2 separate regions of the Homo sapiens genome follow, and region 1 is linked to region 2. Evidence: promoter capture Hi-C in 16 types of primary human blood cells and fetal thymus (Javierre and others, 2016). All regions are on one chromosome and are shown on one strand. The core of a region is centred on a gene start or on the middle of the fragment in contact, and the rest is flanking DNA. Distances in the headings are between cores, read along the strand shown.

Region 1 (7,197 bases), core at 363-2,862, 5.7 Mb after region 2:
CGCCTCGGCCTCCCAAAGTGCTGGGGTTACAGGCGTGAGCCACCGCGCCCAGACTCAAATCACATTTTTTAATGATGTTACAAACGAATGTCGATTTTCTCGATGTGATTCTCAGTTACAGAAACTTACAGAACTTTGCTTATCAACCCTAGACAATAAAACTATTCTACCTAGAGGCTCTAGGAAGCTTTCCTTACTCCACTGTACCTCACTCAAATCACTCCTTGATTTTACATACTCCTTAGTAGTCTTACCATCTATGATGCTCCATTACTTTTTTTTTTTGAAATTGATATACTTTCAATTTTCTCCTTTTCTGTGTTTTGGCCTTCTCAATTCTATTTTAAATGTTCTCAGGGCCCAGCCAGTGTCCTGTTTTGTATTCTGCAATGTCTAGAAGTTATTAAAAAGGCATGAAGGCTTTGCAAAAAAACAGCTTGAGGAAGTCATAACCTTTCTAAGCCTCAGTCTTCTCAGAGAATTGGGCTAGATTATCTAAGCTCCTTTTAACTCTTCAACTCAAGAAACGCTTGCTGAAAGTGTTCCCTTGGCTGCCGATCACCTTCAAATTCCAGCTCAAAACCCCCTTTGGAAGGCATTCCCTAACTAATCCCTCCCTACAGACTACCCTGCTCACTGAGCCTTGAGATTTAGAAATTCAGTGAATACCGAAGTAATTATCAGCAGATTGGCATACCGTTGGTCAAGGGGAAAAGCACTTGATGTGAGTAGGTAGCAGGATGGAATGAAAAGAGCATCTAGAGTCAAACTGTAAAGTGCTACTCCAACGTAAGGTGATAGTACTAATTTTACAGATTAAATGCATACCAAAGTTAGTGCTAGAAAGAGCGCCAGCAGGAAGCAAAGCGAACTTTTAAAGGGCTGTTTAGTTCACTGGGCTCTCTCCTTCGCCACTCGATGCGCCCCTTAACCACAGAAAGTGGGAACAACGGGGTGGTCCAGGGCCCTTTACTCACAGCCCAGCAGGCAGGATTCTCCTACACCTTTTGAGCAGCCTCGCATTTCACTCAGTGTGCGCCATCCTTGGATATACCTTGGCCCCTACTCCCGTCCGTGAACACGGGAATGAGATTTACGGAATGAGATTAAATGCTGGACTAGGTCTTCTTCCTGCCCGGGCCAGGGGCGGACACTAGCGCCCCCTGACCCCCGCCACCCCCTCCTCGGCAAGTTTATTACCCACAGTCTCCCGACCGCACCGTCCAGACCCCGGGGCAGCTCAGCCCGTCGCCTCCCCCGGCGCTCCGAGCCTGGCCCGGCCTCTCCCAGGCCCCGGCCCCCCAGGCCCGCCGCTCCGCCCAGCCCGGGCCCCGCGCACCTTGCTCTTCACCTCCATAGTGCCCAGGCAGCCGCTGCCCGCCCCGTGCCGGTGGCTGCGGTTCATGCTGAACGCCGAGCCCCGCGACGGCCTCCTCCGGCCGGGCGGCCCCTCAGGAGCGCGGGGAGCGAGTGCGCGACTGGGGATCTCGGAAAGCGGTTGCGGCCCGGGCGCCTCCTCACAGGCACCTGCAGAGGGGGCGGCCGCAGCTCCGGCGTCCGCGCTGAGCTCCACTCCACCAGCTGCTCACACGGCGGGACCGAGGGTCGGACTGGTGGCGCGGCAGGCGGGGAAGCAGCTCCCTCCCTCCGGGCCCCGGCGGCGACGGCGACAGCGCTGGAGGAGAGGAGGGGGCGGAGCGGAGGCCACAAGCGCCGCAACCTCTCCCTCTGCCGCCTCCCCCGCGAGCCCGCGCGCGCGCACCCGAGCGGACCACAGCCGCGGCGCGTGCGCGCGCTCACCTGCAGCCCCCGAAGATGCCGCAATCCCTCGCGTTCCGCCCACACCCAATAGAAAGCGCGCACCTGCGCCCGCGGCGCCAACCAATCGATACACGCCTCGCGCGGTGCGTGGGCGGGCTGCCTCCTCAAAACCCCGCCTACCACCGCACGATTGGTCCTGCGCTACGAGGGAGGGGCGGGATCACCTGAAGCCATGGCCCTCCGCCCCGCTTCAGGCCGGAGAGCCAGAAGGCGCATGCGCGGGTGCTGGAGTTTCCGCCCCGGGAAGGCACGCGGGGAGGCCGGCCGGAAGCGCGAGCGCACCTGAAGAAGGGCTCGGCTGGGTGGGCCTTTTGCGCACGCGCGAGCGCGCGCCTGGTTGCCCGGCTCCGCCGGGGCTCGCGCCGCTTAGCGCGCGCCAGTCACACGCACGGTCCAGGGGATTGGATGCGCCGCCCGTCCGGTTGCCGAGGCGCTGCGGGGCTATTCGGTTCCAGCCGGGCCCCCTTCCCGCTTCCACTTTGGGATGCTGCAGCCCCCAACGACGCCCCTCCACCGCCCCTTATCGTTGCTTAGGCGTCCCGCTGCAACTCTTGGTTGCAAAATTCAAGTTTTCCCGCCTCTGCAGCGGTTGCTGGGGGAGAAGCTTAGGGCTCTCTTGGCTTCATTTTGTCCGAAGAGACTCTGCACGCCTTAAGTCCGTCAGGTCGAGAGGGAAGGAAAGTGGGCTGAGGCGCGGGAAGGCTCCTTGCAGGCCCAGCCTCCCTGAGGATTTCTAGTCCAGTCTTTCAGGGCTTTTTTTTTTTTTCTTTAAAAGTCTTCCTTTTCCCTCCTCCCGCCATTCCTTGGCCATTCGCTGTTTCTACAAATGACAGCCTCTAGGTTGTGTTCGTTTCCCGGAGTGACCAAGCTGTGTCCCAGAGCAACAAAACGCTGAATCCTCCTCTCTGAACGTCCCAGAGCCCGGCCTCTCTTCACACAGACCCTGTGGGTCATGGGGAGGAGAGGAGAAGACTGAAGCTTTTGGCTGGAGGAGATTCCCAGGTCCCAAGGTCTCCCTGTGGGACCCGGGAATCCAAGAGCTGTTGAAACCTGCAAGCCAGGAAGGGGGCAGGGGAATGGAGGTGGAGGGGAAGGTCCAACCTGAGATTTGGCAAGAAGAGTGGTTAGGGTACCTTCCTCCCCTCATCTCCCTGCCCACCTCGGAGGCCTCCTAACACTTGTACCCCTGTTGCCCAGCACTTGTTACAAGTTACAGGTTTCCCATTTTTGTGTGCATCTGAGTTTTGTGAGTAATCTGCCACCAGCCTAGAATGAAAGCTCCCGAAGGCGCAGGGACGGCTTGTGCTTTGCTGGCATTGAGTGGCACAGAACCCGACTCCCAGCGGGTACTCAGATGGGTCTTTGCTGGGTGCTGCCACTGAGGGTGTCCCTTCTGCAGGCTCTTTGCCCCACTTGGGTTCAAAGGCGAGAAGCTCATTTTTTTCCCTCTGGAGGATTCAGGTAACCAGACGTTTTGTGGGAGGATTTAAGGTTTTTCTGGCCACCTGTGGCAGCACAGGTGGAAAGGACACCAATCCAAGCTGTATAATAAATAAGCAAGCTGCCTCCACCCCCTGTTTGAAAGCACATAGGAGGTGACTCAAGTTCAGCCGGAAATAAAGTGCATGTCAGGGCCTGTAACTCCCCTGTTTGGACTAGCACAGCAGTTCCCAACCTTTTTGTTTTCAAGACCCCTTTACACTATTAAAAATCATGGAGGACCCCAAAGTACTTTGTTTATGTGTAATGTCTTTCAATATTTATCTTAGAATTAAAACGGATGTGTCCAAAACATGGGAGTACACAAGCATGCATTCCAACAGTCATCAGAGTGATGATGTCATCACATGTCTTGTCCCTTCTGGAAAACTCCATTGTATACTCGTGAGACAATGGGAATGATGAGAACAAATGACATCTTAGTTTTGTGAAAGCAGTTTTGGCCTTGCAGAGACCCCCGTAAAGGGGTCTCAGGGACTCCCAGAGACCACACTCTGATCATGGCTGGACTAGATACCATGTCACCACCTTTAGAGAGCTCCGTTCTTAGGTCTCCTCCTCCTCTCCCTGATTGGCAAGGCCACACCCTGGGAGCAGCACCCCAGCTCTGTGTGAGTGAGTGTTGGGTGGTTGAGTTTTACTCCTGTTATCGGTACTGATTTATCAGGAAGTTCGTGGGTGCCAGTGCACCTGCGTGGGCCCTGCATTCCTGGAGGTGTCGTCACATCCTCTCTCCCTTCCCCAGGTGTGGCATCCCTCTTTACTTGGACTTTCCTTTCTAGAGGGAGGGCCAGGCCAGAGCTTCCTGGATTTCTTAAGGAAAATTATTTCAACCCGTGCGCCTGGGTTGTATAAGGAAGAAAAGTAGAAAATAGTTGGAATTTGATAAAGGTATTGTGAAGGAAGAAAATCCTTTCATTCTGAGAGATGTTAAGGCCACAAGTGTGTTCACTGGGCCTGAATTTCAGCCTTTCTTGAGAAGCATGATCAGCACAGACGAGGATTTTATATTCCCGTTTCTTCCATTTGAAGGCTAACCCTAACCTTATTTCTGTCCATCATCCCTCCCCACCCCCAAATCCTCAAGCTAAAGCTGATCAAGACTTACAAGTGGCCTAAAAAGCTAGTCCCCTGCCTGGGAGAATTAATACTCAGTGGGTTAGGGAGATAAGTAAGGTGAACATATGACATTATGGACTCTCTAAATTATAGGTTCACAGAATCGTTAGTCCAGAATGGGCTACCAGAGATAATCACGCCCATACACTGTCAGGCCTCTCCACTCTCTGAAAGAAGTTAGTGAAGGTTACACTCCTGCTTTCTGCTCCTTTTCAATACTGTCTGTGTCTTTAGGTTCTACAAATACCCTGTTGTGTTTGTTTGAAAGCTACCTTGTGAGGTGAAAGGAGTTTGTAATTTTCCACAATTAGTTTTCTTAATTCATTATTGTGTAATGATTCTTCTTCCTTTCCTTCTTCCTCTAACTCTTAGGAAAAAAAAAAAAGGTGGCAAGAAGTCATCTGTAATGCTGGTAAAAATTTTTTCAATAAATTTCTCTTGCCAGCTCTTTTTCTCCTTGATTGCACAAGTTCCAATTCTGATGGAGCTGGTTAATCATTCTTTGAGAAATAGTTGAAGTGTATATTTACGAATATCAGACTACTCACTGAAGCATTTTAAGCCCTTTAGCAGAGGTGGAATTAAGTCACATGATCTGTTTTCTGGTTAATAGCTTATAATACTGTACTGCTTTTTGCGCGGAGCTGGGGTGGTGGTGCTCACAGACAGAGAGACGAATGAATTGTTTTCTGTAGCCTTTAGGACGTGAGAGCCCTTTTAGGTAAAAACTCAGCTTTGCAGGAGGCAGTATGTGCCAGGCACGGTGCCTAAGCCTTGCCCTTGGCTTGGTCTGCCACGGGTTTGCTTTCTGACCCCTCTCTCGGACTCAATTTCTCCATCTGTAAATGCAGGACCTGATGAGATCATCTCCACAACCCCTTCCAGCTCATAACATTCTATGGTACTCCAGGGATAATGGAGATTGATCATTATTTCAACATTACCAGGGATGAACTGGAATGAAAATAATAATCTTTCCATCAGGGTCAACAGACAGGCTGCAGTCATCAGCCAAACTATTCCACTTCCCAGGAGGTGTTGATGAAGATAGTTGATAGTTAACATTTATGAGACCTACCAGGTGCCAGAAACTGGCTAAGCTGCTATTTACTTATTTGATTTTAAGTTGCATGAAATAACTTCATATTTGGAGGCATCAGATCTTTGTTTTTTAAACTGATAGACATTTATTTGAGTCGTTGCTCTGCTCCTTGCTGTCTGGGTGACCTTGACCCTGTTCACTTAACCACTCAGAGCCTCAGATTTCTCCTCTGTTCCTCTATAAACAGAAGTAGACAGCAATGCCTACCTCACCAGATTGTTGCAGGGCTCAGATGAGGAACCATACATGAAACTGCTCTGCAAACCATCAAGTCTGGTACAGATATTACTGGGTTTCATTTAGCAAATAATGTTGCCTACCAAAGCCTTTGAAAGGAGTTCCTTGAAATAAAATGGAAATGTGTAATAAATAAATGCTTCTTTTTGTTTTCACACCGGGTAACCTCTCAGTAGACATCCCTCAGAGAGGCCAAGAGCAATCATTAAGAGCATGACTCAAGCCAGATACATACAGTTGAGTCCTGCCTCTGCCATTTTCTAACTATGTGACCTTAGGCAAGTTCTTAACTTCTTTGAGCCTCTGTCTTCTCATCCGTAAAATGAGCATAATAAGACAATGAATTGTTTTAATTCATATACAAAGCACTTAGGATAGTGCCCAACGGAGAGTAAGGATGCCCTAAGTGTTACATATTATTGTCATTATTGCTGTCTAATTATTTTTATTACCTACTGTCATAATATAATTCATTAATGTAGCATGTATGTAATGAGCCCCAACTGTATGTATAACATTGTGCATGGAGATAAAGGAAAACAACAACGAAAGAATGACACTGTGATTGATTCCTGCCGTTGAGCACTGCACCTTCCATGGACAGACTGCTCCAACAAACGTTCCTGGAGCACCTACCATGGATCAGACAAAGAAACAGACATGAACGCGACAGAGTGCTTGCCTCCAAGGAACTCAGGGTCGAGCTGAGAAGTCAGACTCATGGAGAGGGAACCATAAACTCCCCTGGAGATGGTGGGCACAGCAGCTAAGGAGGCGGGCACTAGACTTGACCATTCAGGGGTCACATGCGGTTCTGCCACCACCCCGCTGTGGAACCCTGGACACTTGTCTCTCAATCTTTGTTTCCTCAGGTAAAATGAAGGTAGTAATAGTATCTACCTTCTTTGATTTAATTATTATTGATTGAGGCTGGGCGTGATGATTCATGCCTGTTTCCTAGCTCTTTGGGAGGCCGAGGCATGAGGATTGCTTCAGCTCAGTAGTTCGAGACCAGCCTGGGCAACATAGTGAGACTCTGTCTCTATTCTTTTTTTAAAACAAATTATTATTATAAGGCTTGGAGCAGTGGCTCACGCCTGTAATCCCAGCACTTTGGGAGGCCGAGGCGGGTGGATCACCTTAGGTCGGGGGTTCGAGACCAGCCTGACCAACATGGAGAAACCCCGTCTCCACTAAAAAATACAAAATTAGCCGGGTGTGGTGTTGCATGCCTGTAATCCCAGCTACTCGGAGGGCTGAGGCAGGAGAATTGCTTGAACCCGGGAGGCAGAGGTTTCAGTGAGCTGAGATCATACCATTGCACTCCAGCCTGGGCAACAAGAGTGAAACTCCATCTAAAAAAAAAAAAAATTATTACTGATTGAGTATCTATTATGTGCCAGGTACTAGTCTATTTT
Region 2 (7,275 bases), core at 1-2,500:
AAATCACAAGTGGGTAGTCTGGCAAAGAAAAGTTGATGAGAGATTCTACTGTTAACGTTGGGTTAATATGACTCGAATAATTTCCGTATGCTAGCTCAATGCTTTACATGCACATCCTGTTTACCCTGCAGTAATCTGTTAATTCGTCTTATGTGAATTTAACTCTTAGTCCTAATAAGGTACCTGGAAGGATGGAGGGAAGCCATTTTTGGTTCCCCTACACCACTGTTCTATCCGGTCTCTTCACTTCTGCTGAGCACATCCCGGGTGTACATACACACACACACACACACATATGTGTGTGTATATATATGTATATGTGTGTGTGTGTGTATATATATATATATTTTAAGTGGCCCACCCCTAACTTCTCAACTCCCACAGAACGTTCACTCGCCAGGTAAACAGAAGCCTAATTATCCCCAATTTGCAGGTGAGCACACGAGGACAAGAACCCGATCCAGGACCGGATACATCGCAGTTGGAAAGGCTAGAACACAGATGCCCCCTCACTATATGCGCCGCGACCATCTGGATGCAGAGGCGAACTAAGGACTGGGTGGGAATGGAAGCGAGGCCCTTCGAGAAGAGGAAGGGGTGCAGGCCAAGCCGGGCAACTTAGGAAACGCAAAGTAGAGGCGCATGCCACCTTGCTAACTCTCGACTCTTCCAGTCTCGCCCCAGTCGTTTCTGTGGTTTTCTCTAAATGCCCCAGCCGACCGCACCAGCTACTCTCCCCGTGTCCCAGTACCAGCTGGTCCGGTTCTCTTGGTATCCCGCTCTCTCCTGGAAAAATGGAGGCGCGAATCCTGCCCAATCTACCGCTCCGAGCGCACGTTCACTGCGCACGCTGAAAGGGCGCCAAGCCGACCGCTGCGCTATCGATCGGTCCCACTCTCTCTTGCTTTTCTCGCCATCTTACTTACTGGCACGTTCAAAGGTTAGTTCACCTCCTTGGACTTTATCTCCAATGCGTCAAGCTTGACGTCAAGGGGCTGTTGCTTCACCGATAAATGGCCGACCGCGGAGAGCACCCTGGGGCTGGGACTGCCACAGGTCTGGCTGGCCGTTGGCTCCACCACTTCCGGGTTCTTAGGGAGCAAGTGCGCCTGCGCGCGGTGTGCGCCCTTAAACGCGACTCAAGGCGTCGGGTTTGTTGTCAACCAATCACAAGGCAGCCTCGCTCGAGCGCAGGCCAATCGGCTTTCTAGCTAGAGGGTTTAACTCCTATTTAAAAAGAAGAACCTTTGAATTCTAACGGCTGAGCTCTTGGAAGACTTGGGTCCTTGGGTCGCAGGTGGGAGCCGACGGGTGGGTAGACCGTGGGGGATATCTCAGTGGCGGACGAGGACGGCGGGGACAAGGGGCGGCTGGTCGGAGTGGCGGAGCGTCAAGTCCCCTGTCGGTTCCTCCGTCCCTGAGTGTCCTTGGCGCTGCCTTGTGCCCGCCCAGCGCCTTTGCATCCGCTCCTGGGCACCGAGGCGCCCTGTAGGATACTGCTTGTTACTTATTACAGCTAGAGGTACAAGGGGTTTGTTGAGTGGTGTTGACATGCGCGGGAGGGGTGGGTGGGCTTCAGATTGGATTTTGTCCTCCGAGATCACCTGGGTAAGAAAAGCACAGAAGGTCTCTGCTGTGTTGGAGTTCACGTTCTAGTGGGTGGGGAGACAGACGGTAAGCGTACGGAGAACTTGCAGCTGGGGTGGGTGTTACAGAGGAAAAGCAGGAGTGCGGTTTAACGGGGGCCGCTTTAGATAGAATAGCCTAAGAAGGCCCTTGTCCTGGCTGGATGAGTGGGTGAATTGATGAATGAGAACCTCCTTGCAGAGGCCTTCCCGGTCCGTACTTCTCAGACCGTAGACCTTGGAGCAGTTGTACCGGGATAACTTGCAGTGCTTGTTAAACATATAGCTCCACCGAGAGCCCGGTAAATCAGAATCTCTGAGGGGTAGGACCCAGGTGTCTAGTTATTAACAAACTCTCCAGATGATTCTTAGGTTTCATTGAGAACTAGGGATGCAGACCGGTGCATACAAATCGTCTGGGGACGTTAAAATGCAGAATCTGTTTTTTTAGACCTGGGGTTAGGCCTCAGAGTCTCCATTTCTAAGAACCATCCGGCTGAGGTAGACGTAGCCACTGTCCTTAACTCTCGTAATGTCTCTTCCTCTTCCGTAACCTTCCTTGTCCCTTGAATTAAACGTTTTTCAGCAACCTACTCAGTTCGTCCTTCCCTTCATCTCTGCAGACATGCACAGGTCTGAGGGAGGAAGGAATAAACCGTATAAACCTCCTGCGCTATTAGCCTAACAGCTTTTCTATTCAAAATAGTAGGACTTCTGGTTTGAACTGAATGGATCCTGTGAAAGTCATCTGGTTCTTCAATCTGGTTGCAGATTAGAGTCACCTGAAGGGCAGTCTCCTTGGCGTTGTCTCCAGAATTCTGGATTAGAATCTTATTCCATTCTGCTTGTTATTCAATTTCCCTAGAAAGAAAGGTAGAATAAATTGGAGCAAATGCCTGTAGCTTCTGTCAGAAGAATGTTGAATAAATGTTGTTAGGCCTATGTGATCTCATTAGACTGCTACTTAGAATTGTAAGGGAAGTAAAGCATTAGAGCATGTGTGAAATTAAATATTTGATTAACACAAGTGTGCATTTCCTTGTTGCTGTTTATCAACTTTTACTTACCCACTGTTTTTTTATAAGGGCTGCAGCCTGTAGTCTGGGCCTGGCTTCATCATGGAATTATTTGCTTAATTGTAAAATGGTAATCTTAATTTTTTTTTTTGAGACAGGGTCTCACTCCATTGCCCAGGCCAGAGTGCGGGGATATTTGATAAGAAACTTCAGTGAAGGCCGGGCGCGGTGGCTCATGCCCGTAATCCCAGCATTTTCGGAGGCCGAGGTGGGTGGATCACCTGAGGTCGGGAGTTCCAGACCAGCCCTACCAACATAGAGAAACCCTGTCTCTACTAAAAATACAAAATCAGCTGGGCGTGGTGGTGCATGTCTGTAATCCCAGCTACTCTGGAGGCTGAGGCAGGAGAATTGCTTGAACCCAGGAGGTGGAGGTTGCGGGTGAGCCGAGATTGCGCCATTGCACTCCAGCCTGGGCAACAAGAGCAAACTCTATCTCAAAAAAAAAAAAAAAGAAACCTCAGTGAAATGAAAGACTGAACTACACACCTGGGGGAAAAGCGTAATAAAGGGAGCAAGAAGTGCAAATGCTTATGGCAGGGGACTTATTTGCAGAAAGAAAGCCTTGTGTGGCTGGTACACGGTTGACAAGAAGAGGAGATGAAGTCAGAGAGGTAGTTAGGGTCCATGTTCTGTGAGACTTCAATAGGCCTGTCTATGCAGGTTAGGAGTTTGCATTGTTTTGATTGAGTTGGGAGCCATGGGGGTCTTCTGAACTGAGGATCAACACATCTGATTTGTTAATGAGATTGCCGGCCTCAGTGTTAAGAATGGACCATGACAGGGTAAGGGTGGAAGTGGGGAGGCCATTGGGAGGCTGTTGGAAAAAACTCAAGGGAGAGAGAATAATGGTTTGACCAGGTGGTAGTAGTAGAGGTGGTGAGCAGTGATCTTGAAGGCAGAGCCTACAGAATATGCTGGTGGATTAAATGAAGGGTTTGCGAGAGAGAACCTCGTAAAGGGTTATTATGCCAAGGCTTTTGGCCTGAGCAACTGACAGGATGGGTTTGCCATGCACTGAGATGAGGATGTCTAGAGACTAGATTTGGGGAGGTGAGAGTGGGGAGAGATTAGGACTTCTGTTTGGGACATGTTAGAATGGAGATGCCGCTCAGATAATCAGGTGCAGATGTTGCATAGAAAGTAGAAAATGTAGATCAAGAGTTCAGGGGAGAGGTCTGGGCTGAAGAATGAATATTTGGGAGTCCTCAGCCTGTAGATGGTACTGAAAGCAAAGAGACTGGATGTACTCGGCTAGGGAGTAATTGGAGATGGAGAAGTCATTCTAGGCCTGAGCTCAGGGCACACCCATGAACAGGGAGGTGAGAAGTGGAGAAGGGAAGAGGTTCAGTTTTGGATATGTTAGGATTGAGGTGCCTGGCAGACATTTTTGGGAGATCCTGGGCAAATCCTTGGATATCCAAGTCTGACAGTCCAAGGAGAGACTAGGGCAGAAGACGCACTTTGAGTGGTCCTCATGAAGGCATTTAGAGCTGAGGCACTGGGTGATATGGATCCCTGGTGAAGGTGTAGATGGAGAAGTGGAGGGTCCAGGGACTCGTTCTTGAGTCACCCCAGACCCTTGATCTGGCAAAAATGAGACTGACCCAGCAAGGAGGGAAAGACAGGACGACTAGGTGGTAGATAAACCTGGAAGTGAAGTGAAGAAAAAAGTGTAAGATGTGATCAACCTTGTCAGATTCTGCTGAGGATGCAAGTACGGGGAAGGTGGAATTGACCCTTGGGTTTGGCAGCAGTAGGTGTCAGCCATGAGCCTGACAATGTGGTGGAGACAAAAAAGCCAGGTGGGGATGGGCTCAGGGGAGGGGAGAGGAGCAGTAGAGGTGGCAAGTGTGGACGGTTCTTCTGGAGCTTTGCTGTTGGAGAGGAGGGGGTCATTGTTAGCAACGATAATAGAATAAAGAGGACTTTTATTTTATTTTATTGTTTTGAGACGAAGTCTCGCTCTTTTCCCATAGGCTGGAGTGCAATGGTGTGATCTCAGCTCACTGCAACCTCTGCTTCCTGGGTTTAAGTGATTCTCCTGCCTCAGCCTCCCGAGTAGCTGGGATTACAGGTGACTGCCACCACGCTCAGCTAAGTTTTGTATTTTTAGTAGAGACGGGGTTTCACCATGTTGGCCAGGCTGGTCTCGAACTCTTGACCTCAGGTGATCCGCCCACCTCGGCCTCCCAAAATGCTGGGATTACAGGTGTAAGCCACCATGCCCGGCCTAAAGAGGACTTTTTTAAGGTAGCAGGTATGCCAGTAGGCTGCACAGGGATGGAAGTGATCCATTAGAGGAGAGATGATGGAGCAGCAAGACCATCAGGAGTGAAGACTCCGTGACAGAGGATGGGACGCAGTGCCCAAGGGGAGGTTGGCCTTGCAGGGAAAGCACATGCCTGTCCCTCCCTCATTAGCTTCATTTGGACAAAACATGTAAAATCCGGTGTGTTGTGGAGGCCTTTTGATTGGGGAACTGTAACGCTGCCTATCGAGCAACAGCACTTTAAGCAGGTGGCTTTGTTCAAATTAAAGGTTCTTCTTTTTCTTTTCAGGCATCATGGACCGATCTAAAGAAAACTGCATTTCAGGACCTGTTAAGGTAAATTGAATAATCTGTAATCTCATTCACATTTATAAACCCACATGGAGGTTGGTCTTGTCGGGAATTCTTTCCGCCTTTACTTTGGATTTAAATTTAGATCCCTTACTGTGATCCTGGATATGAATTAGTCACTTTTCTCGTGTTCAGTAACATTTTGCTGCTTCTTAGAGTAGCTTTTTTGTTCTGCTTTGTCTTATAATCGGCTGCTTAAGTTTCTATATCCCTCCACTGTATGCAGGATAATAGTAATAATGCATCTGGCAGGAGTTCAAAACTTTTAAAATTGGCCATAAATATAAAATAATTAGAAAAAGGCTACCTTGAATTACTGTATTTGATTCTAAGTTCCTATGATAACGGCCATTTAAAAAATTGCTCTATATTTAAAATGTTTCTTTTTATTTGTCTTTGTCTGAATGCCTGCTGCGTTGTGGACAGTGTGCTAATTTCAGGAGTAACTGACTTTGTATTTGGAAGTCTTAACACCCTCTCTTTGTAGAGCACTCATACCGTTGAGCTGGGGATGGACTTTGAGGCTTTCATTTCTAGCACTTGTCCCTCACTTACAATGAGCTGTTGAAGCTGAAGGAAATCTCATCCCTCCTACCCCTTTTAGTTTGATTAGCTGAGGGTGTTAGAGTTAACTTAACAATTTAAGGTTGTAATACAGTACTTACAGGCGTATAAATAATACATTTCAAGGCTGGGCGCGGTGGCTCACGCCTGTAATCCCAGCACTTTGGGAGACCAAGGAGAGTGGATCACAAGGTCAGGAGTTCAAGACCGGCCTGGCCAAGATGGTGAAACCCTGTTTCTACTAAAAATACAAAAAATTAGCCAGGCGTGGTGGCAGGCGCCTGTCGTCCCAGCTGCTTGGGAGGCTGAGGCAGAGAATTGCTTGAACCTGGGAGGCAGAGGTTGCAGTGAGCCGAGATCATGCCACTGCACTCCAGTCTGGGTGACAGAGCAAGACTCCATCTCAAAAATAATAATAATAATACATTTTAGTAGTAACTTTGTGAAGTGTCTACATTTGTTTCCTCTTTGTCAGTTTTTTGCTCAATTCCATTTTGTCAATACTTGGAAAATGAAACATTGGTTAATCAATAGTACAGTAATAAGCTTATTGTGGAAAATCTTCGATATATGAAAACTTAGACTCTTCTAAAACTTCATGAAGATAATACCACTGTTGAACGTTTTGACGTATTTTTTTTTGGTCTTTTTCTTAAACGTATATTATCAAAGAAATTTCAATGGAACTGAGATTTTGGCATAAAGTTTTTGTATCATAGCTTTTTGCCAAATAGCAATGTAGTGTCTATTTCCAAATTATTGAGAAATTTTAGAAAGTGTCTCCTTCATTAATGGATATTTGTTAATAAAGCATGATTTTTAGGGGTGAGGAATTGGAGGGGATAGAAGGTATCATTCAGGTATTCTTAGCCACATACTAACTATCCTCTGGAGGTACTGATTAAAATACCTTTTCACCTTCCATCTCTTATCAGTGACATTCATTATTTTGCTATACTAGAGAACAAACTTTGTGAAATTCTCAATATATTCATCTTTTGCTTTCATGAATGCCAGAAAGTTTATTTTCTCTTCCATTCTAGGCTACAGCTCCAGTTGGAGGTCCAAAACGTGTTCTCGTGACTCAGCAATTTCCTTGTCAGAATCCATTACCTGTAAATAGTGGCCAGGCTCAGCGGGTCTTGTGTCCTTCAAATTCTTCCCAGCGCATTCCTTTGCAAGCACAAAAGCTTGTCTCCAGTCACAAGCCGGTTCAGAATCAGAAGCAGAAGCAATTGCAGGCAACCAGTGTACCTCATCCTGTCTCCAGGCCACTGAATAACACCCAAAAGAGCAAGCAGCCCCTGCCATCGGCACCTGGTAAACTAGCTTTTGAGACTCATTGGATAGTCCTTCTTTGTCGTCGTTGCTAAAAAAGCCAGTGTAT

What was found. Contacts are between HindIII fragments. The CHiCAGO score rates a contact against its expected background, and 5 or more counts as called.
Region 1: a contact is called between the fragment with the promoter of PARD6B here and the fragment with the promoter of AURKA in region 2, in 1 of 17 cell types (fetal thymus). The highest score is 6.5, in fetal thymus.

The regions. Positions count from the first base shown.
Region 1 is chr20:50,725,995-50,733,191 of GRCh38, reverse strand. It overlaps PARD6B (par-6 family cell polarity regulator beta), which reads right to left and starts at 1,612. Exons shown (of 3, transcript NM_032521.3): 1 at 1,340-1,612. The coding sequence starts at 1,405. RefSeq lists silencers at 1,170-1,959, 2,060-2,269, 5,618-5,727 and enhancers at 2,460-2,509, 3,462-4,661. The HindIII fragment of the contact is 2,238 bases long and covers 190-2,427 here.
Region 2 is chr20:56,386,190-56,393,464 of GRCh38, reverse strand. AURKA (aurora kinase A) reads left to right here and starts at 1,250. Exons shown (of 9, transcript NM_198437.3): 1 at 1,250-1,297; 2 at 5,263-5,309; 3 at 6,932-7,208. The coding sequence starts at 5,268. It overlaps CSTF1 (cleavage stimulation factor subunit 1), which reads right to left and starts at 820. Exons shown (of 6, transcript NM_001324.3): 1 at 752-820. RefSeq lists enhancers at 865-1,104, 6,180-7,275. The HindIII fragment of the contact is 5,454 bases long and covers 983-6,436 here.